Regions from separate parts of the Homo sapiens genome. Here region 1 is linked to region 2. Evidence: promoter capture Hi-C in 16 types of primary human blood cells and fetal thymus (Javierre and others, 2016). All regions are on one chromosome and are shown on one strand. The core of a region is centred on a gene start or on the middle of the fragment in contact, and the rest is flanking DNA. Distances in the headings are between cores, read along the strand shown.

Evidence for each region. Contacts are between HindIII fragments. The CHiCAGO score rates a contact against its expected background, and 5 or more counts as called.
Region 1: a fragment that was not itself captured here is called in contact with the fragment with the promoter of MS4A7 in region 2 in 1 of 17 cell types (naive B cells); the score reaches 5.9 in naive B cells.

The regions. Positions count from the first base shown.
Region 1 is chr11:60,607,495-60,613,608 of GRCh38, reverse strand. It overlaps LOC105369321 (a long non-coding RNA gene), which reads left to right. Exons shown (of 6, transcript XR_001748240.2): 5 at 2,202-2,365; 6 at 5,145-5,314. It also overlaps the pseudogene MS4A19P. Among named protein-coding and RNA genes, the nearest start is that of LINC00301, 5.2 kb to the left of the region's middle. The HindIII fragment of the contact is 461 bases long and covers 4,325-4,785 here.
Region 2 is chr11:60,373,914-60,380,254 of GRCh38, reverse strand. It overlaps MS4A7 (membrane spanning 4-domains A7), which reads right to left and starts at 1,723. Exons shown (of 7, transcript NM_021201.5): 1 at 1,591-1,723. RefSeq lists enhancers at 1,722-1,771, 2,452-2,691. The HindIII fragment of the contact is 12,513 bases long and covers 1-5,892 here.

The DNA.
Region 1 (6,114 bases), core at 3,306-5,805, 230 kb before region 2:
GACTCCCTATCTAGAGCTGTTCTTTGTGTTAAACTAGCTCAGGCTCTGAAGCTGGGACCTTGTTCAAGGATGCATGTAAATGGGGTCAAAGATTGGGGCTGCAGTTGCACCTGGTCTCCACTTGCAGGGCAGACTCCCTTGGTGCTGGGTTGATTAGCTAGGAGGAAGGGGCCTCAATTTCTAATTGTACTGTTCAGAGGGGACTTACCTTCTATTTCATTTTCCCAGAGGAGCTGTTATTAAGCAATCTGTCCTTTTGAACGGGGTACTTTTGTCTAGTTTGCACAAAGGCATCTTAGGTGTTAGCAGCCCCTTTTCAGATTATTGGCCCCCAATCTCTACATTTCTTTCAAAATTTCTGGCATCATATCCTTCCTCATTCAGCCTGGATCCCACAGATCCACTAATTATCATCTTATTAAAACCCACAAATGCAAGTTTGCCACCTTGTAATGCCACCTTTTCTGTGTAGGATATTTTAGGGAAACTCTCACAATGGCATGGATAGACACCCAACAAAGATGTCATCTGAAAGTCCAGTATCTTCATCTGTGCTTCTAATTAAATCGTTGAGTATAATTTGGCCAATTTTGCCTCTGATTCCTGGCAACTCTTAATCCAAACAAGTACTTTATTCATTACCACCCCTCACTCCTAAATGACTGCCTTGTCAATTTTTTCAAAGGAAAGACAAAGTCTCTCATGTTCTTTCTTATCCTTCTCATATGGAGGAATGGATAAAGAACATTTACATTAAAGCTAATTTTTCACTATTTTCTTACTTGATCAGAATTAGGTGTCTTTCCTCTATTCTAAAGTGTAATCTGTCCCTGTGCTACTAATCTCATGTCCTTCAAAGGGCTTATAAACCTTAATCCATCAATTATCTCTTTCTCCCCAGTATATTCAAATATTACTCCCTGCTTTGTATTTCTTCTCAACCCATACATTTATGCAAGTCTCTCTCACAGTTGTGGTTTTTAGTTCATGAAGGTAGACCAAGCAGATGCTACTTATTCTTCATATGAACTCCAATTCCAAGGAGCACACTTACAAAAAAAATTCCATTGCCACATTGAAAAATAAGAAGCAACTCTCTTGGTGAACCAGAATCTGTGAATTCCTAAGAGAACAAAAGTATACAGACTAGACTGAAGAAAAACACACAATAATAAAGGACCTGCAACAGAAGACTGTTCTAAATGGTGGAAATTTTTGCACTTCATAAACAAATGGCATATATGTAAATAACACAGATACTCTAATCTTGAATTTGTATCCCCCCAAATTACTTAAGGGGCAAGATGGGGGGAACCCAGTTGCCCATTTCTGGGACAGCGAATGTATAAATGTGCGGGGTGCATGGCACAGACTTTAGGCAGCATTTAAAATCAACTGATAGAGGTACTGATAGCCACACGGATAGATCTTTAAAACTTACTGTTAGGAGGAGCAAAGTTTGTGCATGTAATTTATGGGTGTGTATGAACTTCATGGATTCCAGATACATTCCTACAATAGAATGCCATACATTTTTGGGGAGATACTGACAAATAAAATATGCATGTTTTATAAAGTGGAACAATTGCTCATGGAGGGAGGGAAGGGGGAGTGGGGTATGGAGATCAAAGAAAATTTAAAAAATAGGAAGCATCCTTATAGACACAACAAAACATTTCTAAGATAATTTGCTTAAAATTTGAGTGTGATAAGCCACAGTGTAAAATTATAGGCAAAAATATGTAACGTTTTGGGAGCTGGACTTTCTAGACAAACTAAATCCAGTAGCTATTAATTCATGTAGTCTCAATAACATAAAGATATGGCTAATTGTAATATACCTTCTTCACTGTAGGTAAGCTATGCATGTTTTAATAATATCCAGTGAGAAAGAAATAATTAGTAGTATTTAGAGCTAATAAGCAAAGAAGCCTTCACAAGCAATGGGATTATTTATCATTTATGCGAAGTCTCCTTCTCACAATGAAATAATTTTCTCGAGTTAGCATTTATTACATCATTATCAATTTTAGGTATAGATTCTACTCTAGTAACATGTGCCCATTCATAGAACTTCTCTTGTATGGAAGAATCCCTTAACTCAGGCTGACCATATTCAAACTGAGATAAATTCATGCACAGTTCCTCATGTAGACAAAAATAACCATATTCATCAATTTTAATTTTTATTAATGAAATAGGGGGAAGAGAATACTGAGATGGATTTAATGAAATTACATTTTCCAAGAAGCCTCTTGAACAGAATGAAGTTCTTCATTTGCCACTAAACTTTCCTCCTTGACTGAGCTCACTGATGGTTTCTTTAATATGCAGAGAAAGGATCTCCTTCTGCCATGAACCTGAGGTAAGTTAGATATCAGTAAATTGATCATTAGCACACTCTAAAATAAAGAACTATAGAATTTGGGTTAGAATTTTGGAAATAATTCTAATAGAAGTATTCTCCTCATTGAGATTTTTATTTTATTTATTTTTTTAGAGATGAGGTCTCTGTCACCCAGCCTGGAATGCAGTGGCACTATCATTGCTCACTGTAACTCTGAATTCCTGGGCACAAGCCCTCCTTCCACCTTCCCCTCCTAAGTAGCTAAGGACTGCAGGGATGTGCCACCACTCCTGGGTAATTTTTTCAACTTTATGCATTTTATTTTATTTTATTTTACTTTACTTTACTATTTTATTTTATTTTATTTTATTTTATTTTATTTTATTTTATTTTATTTTATTTTATATTTTTGTAGAGATGGGGTCTCATTGTGTTCCCCAGGCTGGTCTCAAAATCCTGAGCTCAAGCAATTCCCCTGCTTTAGCCTCTCAAAGTGCTGGAATTATGGGTGTGAACCACCCCACCAGGCGAGATTTTTAAATTAAACCATGTGCTTTTGATACTTTTTAGTTTTTTTCTTTGTCCTCTCTCCCTTTCTCCCTGGTTTCCATCCTCCCTTCTTTTTTGTTTCTATAGATTGAAAGCCAAAGACAATGCTATATGAAAAGACAGTCCCCAAGACAATGATTGATCATAAAGGGCATATTGTTTTCTACTCAAACTTGATTACATTATTAAGTATAGCATTGAATAGCTGTCAGTTTAAATTCTATTTAGTTGGAGTAGAAATCTATATGTTCTTATATACCCAATCCATGTTTGTTCTCTTTTCACTTTATTCAGAGAAGAATTAAGAATAAGACCTCTGTGAGTGTGTGTGTGTGTGTGTGTGTGTGTGTGTGTGTGTGTTTGGTGTGTTTTGTTTACTTTGCTTTTAGTTAGAGCCATATTTTTTTGAGATTTCGAGTTTGAATACCTTTAGATGGAACTTCAGCTCCCCATTTTAATACCTTACTTAAAGAAGATTCATTGAAAGGCAATCAGTGATCCAGATAACAGGTTTTCAATACCCTAATTCATCTGGAATTATAGCTAATTCACATGTTTTGAAAAGCAAGTGACTTTTGCAGTACAAATGAAGATGTAGCCTCTGAGTGTCAAGAGAAAGTGGGAAATACAAGAAAAGAAATCTATATGATAAATTCCTCTCCCTCCTAATTCATTTTATCAGTTTAATTCAAAATAGAGATTCCTAAACAAAGCTATTTACAAATTAAGATGGTAAACTTAACAAGGCATATTTATGGAATGATAAGTAAATTGGTGAGGCTGGAGCACAGCATTTATGGGCGTGAGTGGTAGGAAATGAAGTCAAGAAAGTAGATTGGGCTAAATTATTACAGAAATGAATGTTGTGCTAGAATATCAGGCTTTCGTGTGGTAAGTGTTTCCTGTTTAAACTTTCATTTGGGGAGATGAAGAAACAGAGGACAGAATTGAAATACATTTAGGGGATCATGTAAAAAGGATTGTCAAATTGTTTCAATTTGAGAGTATTTCTCAGCTCCCTCGCCAGGGCAGGCAGGTAGATAGATGGTGGTGCTCTTAAATGGAAAAGACAAGGTAATGACTTTGTGGGTGAGATGATTAGTTCAGTTTTAGATATGTTTTATTTGAGGTGCTTTGGAATCCTTCGAATCAAACTCTCTAGAGAGAAGTTGGCAATATGAGCCTAGAGCTCAGTAGAAAGGTCTAGGGTGGAGATTTAACATTTGGATTATTATAAATTTATAGATGGTATACATCTACCAAGCTGTAGGTATATATGGTGTTGCCTATACAAAAACTATAGAGGTACAGTTGGAAAAGTCAAGGGACAGAACAGCAACCTGAAGAGATTAAGTAAGACCCAGGTAAGAAGGCAGGTCAAAGGGTCAAACAGATGAGATTAGAAAGTGGTAAAATGGGGAGGAAGCTTAAATTTCCTAAACCTTTCTACACATGTGGTCTAGGATATATGGACAACTCACTTTCTTCTTTGTGTTAACTGTGGTCTCCTTCTCAGTTGTTTTTATGATCTCATAGATCTCTAAGCCTCGGCCTGTTGAGTGGGTACTGGGGAAAAAGGGCAGGCATATCTTTCACTGAAGTTCTCTGATTTAGTGAGATTGAAGTTCTCTGATTTAGTGAGGTCAAATGGAGGTTAAGTTTTCCTTTAGACGTGAAGTAGTTGATATGGAGAAAGTAGGAAAATAGCTTTATTGAAAAAAGGCTTTACCATCTTTTTCAACTTCTCCATTACTCCCAAATCTTGGTTTCTGAAGACACTAAAGTTCTACACTTAGATATTCAACTTGTTCTCCCAAATTTTGAGAAATAAAGGCTTCAGTCTTCAGTAGTCCCATATCCCCGTGCCTGGTAACAACTTCTACAAAGCTTTTTGTTTCCAGGGTAATGTCTGTAGAATTAAACAGACCTGAGCCAGAAAATCACATATCTTCTACCTTATTCTCTCATATGTTATGGACATAAAAGCATCCTGTAATGCAAAACACCTTTATAAAAGGGAAAATTATTTATTCAGTTGTGGAGGGACCCATATAAGTGCATGACAGTTAGTGCCGAGTGTTTTCAGCTATCTACAATCACAGCTTAGTGATGGCATTATTTATACTTAATTCATATCAAAACCTTAGTTATTCAAATAGTGTTCATAACAGAAGACAACATCTTCTGATCTACTAAGGGAAAAATGGGATACTCACTGCATCTTTATCTTCTTCTCTTTTTTGCTTAGGATGCCCAGTGGCTGACTATACTTGCCACAAACAACTCCAAGATGGTTAATATGAACAGATATTCCGAAAGGAGTTTGCCACTTTTCTGTATCCACAAAGAAAATGTACATTCCTTACAGATCTTTCTATGTGAGCACTTTAGAAATAATAAAGGTATCTTAAAATTGAAGAAGAAAAATAGAAGAGAAAAACTACCCACCCTATCCTCCACCCTCAACAATAGAATTTTAAATATTTTTTAATTGTAATTACAATGGATAATTATTGAGGATGATGATATACTGATATATTTCTGCCAAATGTATGATGAGAATCATTGATTGTGTTTTCCTGTTTATTGTTGTGGATAATAACAGGAAATTTTCATTGAGTCCAATAAATCTCTGGGGAAGATGGAATTGTGACACCCTTGAGGTTTAGTGTTATAGAACTTATTTAATAGAGAAACTTACATAAATTTGCCCTGTTGATAGGAAAGGACACTAAAGAGAAACAATGAAAGAAAAGAATGTTTGGACTTGTAACCTGGACTCAACACAAGGGCTGATGTGACCTGGGGGTAGGAATTTCCTCCTGGGATTGTGCCTCTGTCTATAAGCTCCAATAGACCCATATCCTGACAGTATAGCTGGGTTAGAGACAAGAATACAGAATCCGTAATATTGGAAGCCCAAGCCTCTTCAGTACTCAGTGCACTTTTATGACAAGGTCACCATGGGCTACTCAAATCAGTGTTAAATAATGGCGTCATTTAATAGTAACTGAACCATAGCAGTGGAAATTAAGGGCACACTGGTGGACTGATGAGGTACTACATGACTCTGTTAACTAAGGGCTTGGAGTCAATATCGAACCTTTGGATCCCAGTGGTTTTGAGTAACTTGAGAGGGTCAACAGGGAGGGGCCCTCAGAAGGAAGATTCTGGATTTCCTACTAATATGAATATGATAGTTTAAGAGATAAATTAGA
Region 2 (6,341 bases), core at 474-2,973:
CATTCTATCCATGCCATTTTATAACTGTTCTTTTTGTACTCAACATTATTCTGTAGACATCTTTGACCGATGAATAGAAATAATAAAAAGCCTAAATTTAAAAGCAAATGATAGATTCTGATACATGGCACAACATGGATGAACCTTGAAGACAATATGGCAAGTGAAATAATCCAGTCACAAAAGGACAAATATTGTATGATTCTACTTATGTGAGGCACCTAGAAGAGTCAAATTCACTGAAAGTAGAATGGTGGTTGCCAGGGGCTGGCGGGAGAGGGGAATGGAAAGCTATTGTTTAATGGGCACGGAGTTCCAGTTTGGGAAGACAAGAAAGTTCTGGAGTTGGGTGGTGGTGATGGTTGCACAATGGTGTGAATGTGCTTAATGCCACTGAACTGTACACCTAAAAATGGTTAAGGCTGGGTGCAGCGGCTCATGCCTGTAATCCTAGCACTTTGGGAGGCCGAGGCGGGCAGATCACCTGAGGTCAGGAATTCAAGACCAGCGTGGCCAACATGGTGAAACCCCGTCTCTACTAAAAAAATACAAAAATTAGCCAGGCATGATGGTGAGTGCCTGTAATCCCAGCTACTCAGGAGGCTGAGATGGGAGAATCGCTTGAACCTGGAAGACAGTGGTTGCAGTAAGCCGAGATCACGCACTCTAGCCTGGGTGACTGAGCAAAACTCTTTCTCAATTAAAAAACAAACAAACAAACAAACAAAAAACAACAAAAAAACACATGGTTAAAAGGCTACAATTATTTTAAGCATATTTTACTACAACCAAAAAGCCAAATGGTATATTTAAATAAATGGAGGTCTCTAGATTCATTTAATCAATCACATGTTCATGACTATTTAGGTGGTTTCTATTTTTTCTTTTTGCCACTATGAACAATGCAATAATGAACATCTTTGCACTTTTGTGATACCTCCTGCATTTAATTATCTCACAGTGATGTATGGAAGTGGAATTATTACATTTAAATCTATGACACTTGAATTTAGATACACGTTGCTACTTTTAGAAGGAATCCTATATAACCAAGATTCTTTATGTTTCACAAAAGTCTCCAGACTGATGCTATCATCTCCAAACACCACAGTCTGAGAGGATGCTTTGTCCTTCCACATTCGCCTTGAGGAGATAGACTGGAGGGACCCACAGCTTTCAAGACAGCTCTAAAATCCGTGCTTTGAAGATAAATCATGACATGGAGGTCAACAGCTCTGCCCAGCAATTTTCTGTATTACAGAATTAGAGTAGGACCATGGGGTTCTAATGCAAGATTCAGTCTAATTGCACAGTATTTGTTGAGAGTAGACTCTGTAAGACTGAGTGACACACCAGGAGAATGCAGAACATTGAGGAAAATCACCTCAATGAGGGAAACCTAAGAATGGTTTTACCCAATTTTCTTATTTGACAAGTGAGTAAACTGAGACCCAAAAAGGGGACTGAGCTGACGCTCCAACTCACACAGGTGGTCAGAATCAGAGACAGGATGATAATCCAATTCCCTGGCTGTCTTTTCAAAAGCACACAATCTTCCCCAAAAGTCATGATCTAAACCAAGGTGTCTACCTGTTCTCGCAGCCTGGTCCTGTGTGCTGTGGCTGGGGATCAGCTCACCTCTGGGGAGCGCTCAGCTGGAACCTCCCACTGGCTGTTCCTGCCAGAACGATCTTGGTGCTCTGCTCTCCAGCCTCTGAGACTTCCTGTCCCTTTCTTAGAGCAGTATTTATGATTACACAGGATGTGAATTTTGCTGTAGTTACAGACAGTTGATATATAAAAAGTGCCTCTGCTTCCTCTTTCTAAATTCTGAGGTCTGGCAAAATGACACAAGATAGAAGTGACACATGAGAAAAAGACCTTTGTGCAGACTAGTGATTTGTACGGTCCCAGTTAAAATTCATTTTCCCTACTCCTACATAGAATTATTTAAGTCATCTAGTTTTGCTTAGCCTGAGTTTTCTTGTCTATTAAATAAATGGTGGATGGATAATAATAATTCCACTCTGTGGGTGTTGGGAGAATTAAAGAAAAAAGATGCAAAGAGTTTACAAAAAGTAGACAATAAATATTGATAATAGTAATGTTAGTTTTGAATTTTGGAGAATCTATTCTCTCACTTTCCAGGCTCTTGGTAAGCTGAAAGCAACCTGTGGAAAATTCCGTGTCTCCTTGTTACTTCTTTTGGGTGTTTCCATTCTCCATCTTTGGCCTCATGCTCAGGGAAGTCCAGGCACATCTTGGGAAAGATGCCAGTGGATTGGCCTCAGAGGCAGAGTCATCAGGCTCCACACAAGCTCATATTTGGGGAAGTATTTGTTGTTGAGGGGACACTGTTGCCACTTTCACATCCCTTTTAAGGCTTCTTGTAGACTAGCCATTGTTCAGAAGGGTAGGGTTTAAGATGGCTCTGGGACATGCAGCAGCTGGCGGCACAACATGCTCCATATACAGTCTCCATTTCCTGAAGGGTGGCAAGGCTATCCCCTAAGAGAGGAGCAAACCTAAGCCTGGGAGATTTAAATAACTCATAAACTACTTGGAGGGTATTTTAGTCCAGTTCTTCTCCAAATGAGGTGATATTGCTGAAGGAATCTGCCCCCAGTCACATGTCTAGTCTGTGGAAGAGGCAGGAATCTAATTCACATCTCTTGGCACTGAGGTCTGGGCTTGCTTCATGGCAAGAGTCTGCCATTTGGTCAACATCTTTTTTTTTTTTTGAGATGGAGTTTTTTGCTCTTGTTGCTCAGGCTGGAGTGCAATGGTGCAGTCTCAGCTCACTGTAACCTCCACCTCCCAGGTTCAAGTGATTCTCCTGCCTCAGCCTCCCCAGTAGCTGGGACTATGGGTGCCCACCACCATGCCTGTCTAATTTTTGTATTTTTACTAGAGACAGGATTTCACCATGTTGGTCAGGCTGGTCTCGAACTCCTGATCTCAGGTGATCCACCTGCCTTGGCCTCCCAAAGCTGGGATTACAGGTGTGAGCCACTGTGCCCAGCTTAGTCAACATCTTCATATCCACAACAAGCACTGTCTTTGCTTAAGAAAACTTCCAGGATCCAGACCTTCCTCTGGGTCTATGACCTGTTTTGACCAAATTGTTAAAGAACCTTGGTCATTTGGGCTTCTTTCACACTTCTGAGCCTCAGAAGGAATTCGTGAGAAAATCAGTTAAATATCCAGTTCACTTTCTCATAAAATTTGAAAAAAGATTTTTCAGAATTGTTGTGAGGATTAAGTCAAATAACATAAAAGTCCCCACCATAGAGCCTGACATAAATGAACCATTAAGAAAATCTGGTATTTCTTGTCCAACATCTTCTCCCACCCCCTTTAGAGAAAAGTGTATTTTATCTCTAGATTGATCTCTGATCTCTAAGTGTAATCTATGTTTACTCTAAATTCATGCTCTTTTCCATTGATGGAAATCTCCTCAGCCCTTTGCAAACAGTCCTGGTGCTCTAGACAGGCAAGTGACTCACAGTCCTAGTGCCTACTTCAAGGATACGATCTCCCCGCCATCCCCACCCCAAGCAGACCATGAAGCTAGTAAAATGGAAATGCGTCTTATATGTTGGAGGACTCTAACAGCCTTGGACAGACTAACTGTATTTTTTTTCTCTAGCAGTGGAGATGACGGGCTGGGGCTAGGGCACAAGGTCTGGTTATCCAGAGAGAGATTCCTTGGAGCAGTGTTCATAGACCCCCCTGATGTTTGACTTGGTTATTGGCTCCACTCACGGAATTTTCTCCCTGTTTCTTAGAATCTCGTATCACGCCACCGGAATGAAAGTGAAACGATTTTTCCCCCCAACTTCAGCATTTTACAGGTGGGGAAACTAAAGGCCAGGGATTGCTTAGGGAGTTAGTAGTGACTGGGCTGTGGCTGATTCATGCAGTTTCTATGTCTGTATTATTTCAGTGTTTTCTTTATGCCTTTGCAGTTCTTTAATACACAGGTAATGACTCTTTCTAGCAAGTATTCTCTGCTAAAATAACAGAAGGTTTCTGTCTTTTGGCTGATAACCTAAATTACAGAGAGGTTAAGTAACTTACCCTGTCACACACCCTAGAAAGTAATGAAGTCTAGATTTGAATCCAGGTAATCTTAATTCAGGGACTGTGCTCTGTGATCGTTTTTTTTTTTTTTTTTTTTGACGGAGTCTTGCTCTGTTACTCAGGCTGGGGTGCAGTGGCGGGATCTCTGCTCACTGCAAGCTCCGCCTCCCGGGGTCACGCCATCCTCCTGCCTCAGCCTCCCAAGTAGCCGGGACTACAGGCGCCCGCCACAACGCCTGTTTAATTTTTTATATTTTTAGTAGAGACGGGGTTTCACTGTGTTAGCCAGGATGGTCTCGACTCCTGACCTCGTGATCTGCTCGCCTCAGCCTCCCAAAGTGCTGGGATTACAGGCGTGAGCCACTGTGCCTGGCTGGGACTGTGCTCTTAACTGCTATATTATTACTTCCAGGAACTTGCTTTACTGGTCATCTGGACTTGAACAGTAAATCCCCAAACCTGGTGTGAGACCCTACCTTCCAAGTGAAATACAAACAAATGGTTATTTCCTGGTGCTCTTGATATCAGAATTGCTGGGACTCACCATTCAGTGATGATGAATAGGGCAAAAGAATGCAATTATCTCAAATGGGGATGAGGCTGAGCATCTCTAGCTTTGTATAACTGGAGGCTACACATGACAATGGGCATGATGGGATGACTAAGCATGGGGGAGTCTCTTTCTACACCATCCTCAGCAGCTCTGCCAGGTTTCTGCCTCTCTTGGTCTCTGCCTCTGCTGATCTCGCCATGCACACAGCAGGCCTCGCGTAGTACTTCACAGAAAATCTCCTTACTGAAAAGGTGTAGGGCACAACATTCCTTTAAAAAATTCCACATGAAAAATATTCCTCACTTTTCATTGAAATACCACAGTTTGAGTGCTTCTTCTGTGCCAGGCTGTGTTCTAGGTGCTTGGATTGCATCAATGGACAGAACAGAAAAAACCACCTTCCTCTATGGTGTTTTCATTCTCCTAGAATGTTCAAATAGAACAGTGAGGAAGCATACTACATAGTCCTAGTAATAAGCCTAGTAACAAGGTGAATAGACCAATGGAACAGAACTGATGTTAAGAATAGCATTTTACTCAGGATTAAGAAACTGACTCAAAACCACTCAACTACATGGAAACTGAACAACCTGCTCCTGAATGACTACTGCGTACATAAAGAAATGAAGGCAGAAATAAAGATGTTCTTTGAAACCAACGAGAACAAAGACACAACATACCAGAATCTCTGGGACACATTTAAAGCAGTGTGTAGAGGGAAATTTATAGCACTAAATACCCACAAGAGAAAGCAGGAAAGATCTAAAATTGACACCCTAACATCACAATTAAAAGAACTAGAGAAGCAAGAGCAAACACATTCAAAAGCTAGCAGAAGGCAAGAAATAACTAAGATCAGAGCAGAACTGAAGGAGATAGAGACACAAAAAACTCTTCAAAAAATTAATGAATCCAGGAGCTGGTTTTCTGAAAAGATCAACAAAATTGATAGACTGCTAGCAAGACTAATAAAGAAGAAAAGAGAGAAGAATCAAATAGAAGCAATAAAAAATGATAAAGGGAATATCACCACCAATCCCACAGAAATACAAACTACCATCAGAAAATACTATAAACACCTCTACACAAATAAACTAGAAAATCTAGAAGAAATGGATAAATTCCTGGACACATGCACCCTCCCAAGACTAAACCAGGAAGAAGTTGAATCCCTGAATAGACCAATAACAGGCTCTGAAATTGAGGCAATAATTAATAGCCTACCAACCAAATGGCTCTCATGGGGTGAATAAGCTTTAACATATTGAAACGAGGGGAGTTTTCCCTTATCCCCCTTGCAGGGTGCGTGATGGGGGTGTGGCTCACTTCTTTGGTGCCCCGCAGCTCAAACCCCTAAGGGAAGCATGCAGACGGGCAGGTCATGGGGAGCGTGGGCTCCGACTCCATGGCAGCATCTAGGGTTGAGTGTTTACAGCTCCCGAAGCCCAAATGGGTGTATGTTACAATGTGCTCTTTCAGCTTAGCCGTCCGCAGGCACCTTGCTTTAATGAGCTCAGTTAGACCCTCTACCTTATCGCAAGGACAGAGGGCTTTCTGTATCCCAGGGTTCTTGCCCAAGTGTCCCAGAAAAATCAGATCATATGTGGGCTTGGAGAGTGAGTGCAAGGTTTTATTGAGTGGTGATAGTAGTTATCAACAGATGGACAGGGAGCCAGAACGGGGATGGAGTGGGAAGGTGGTCTTC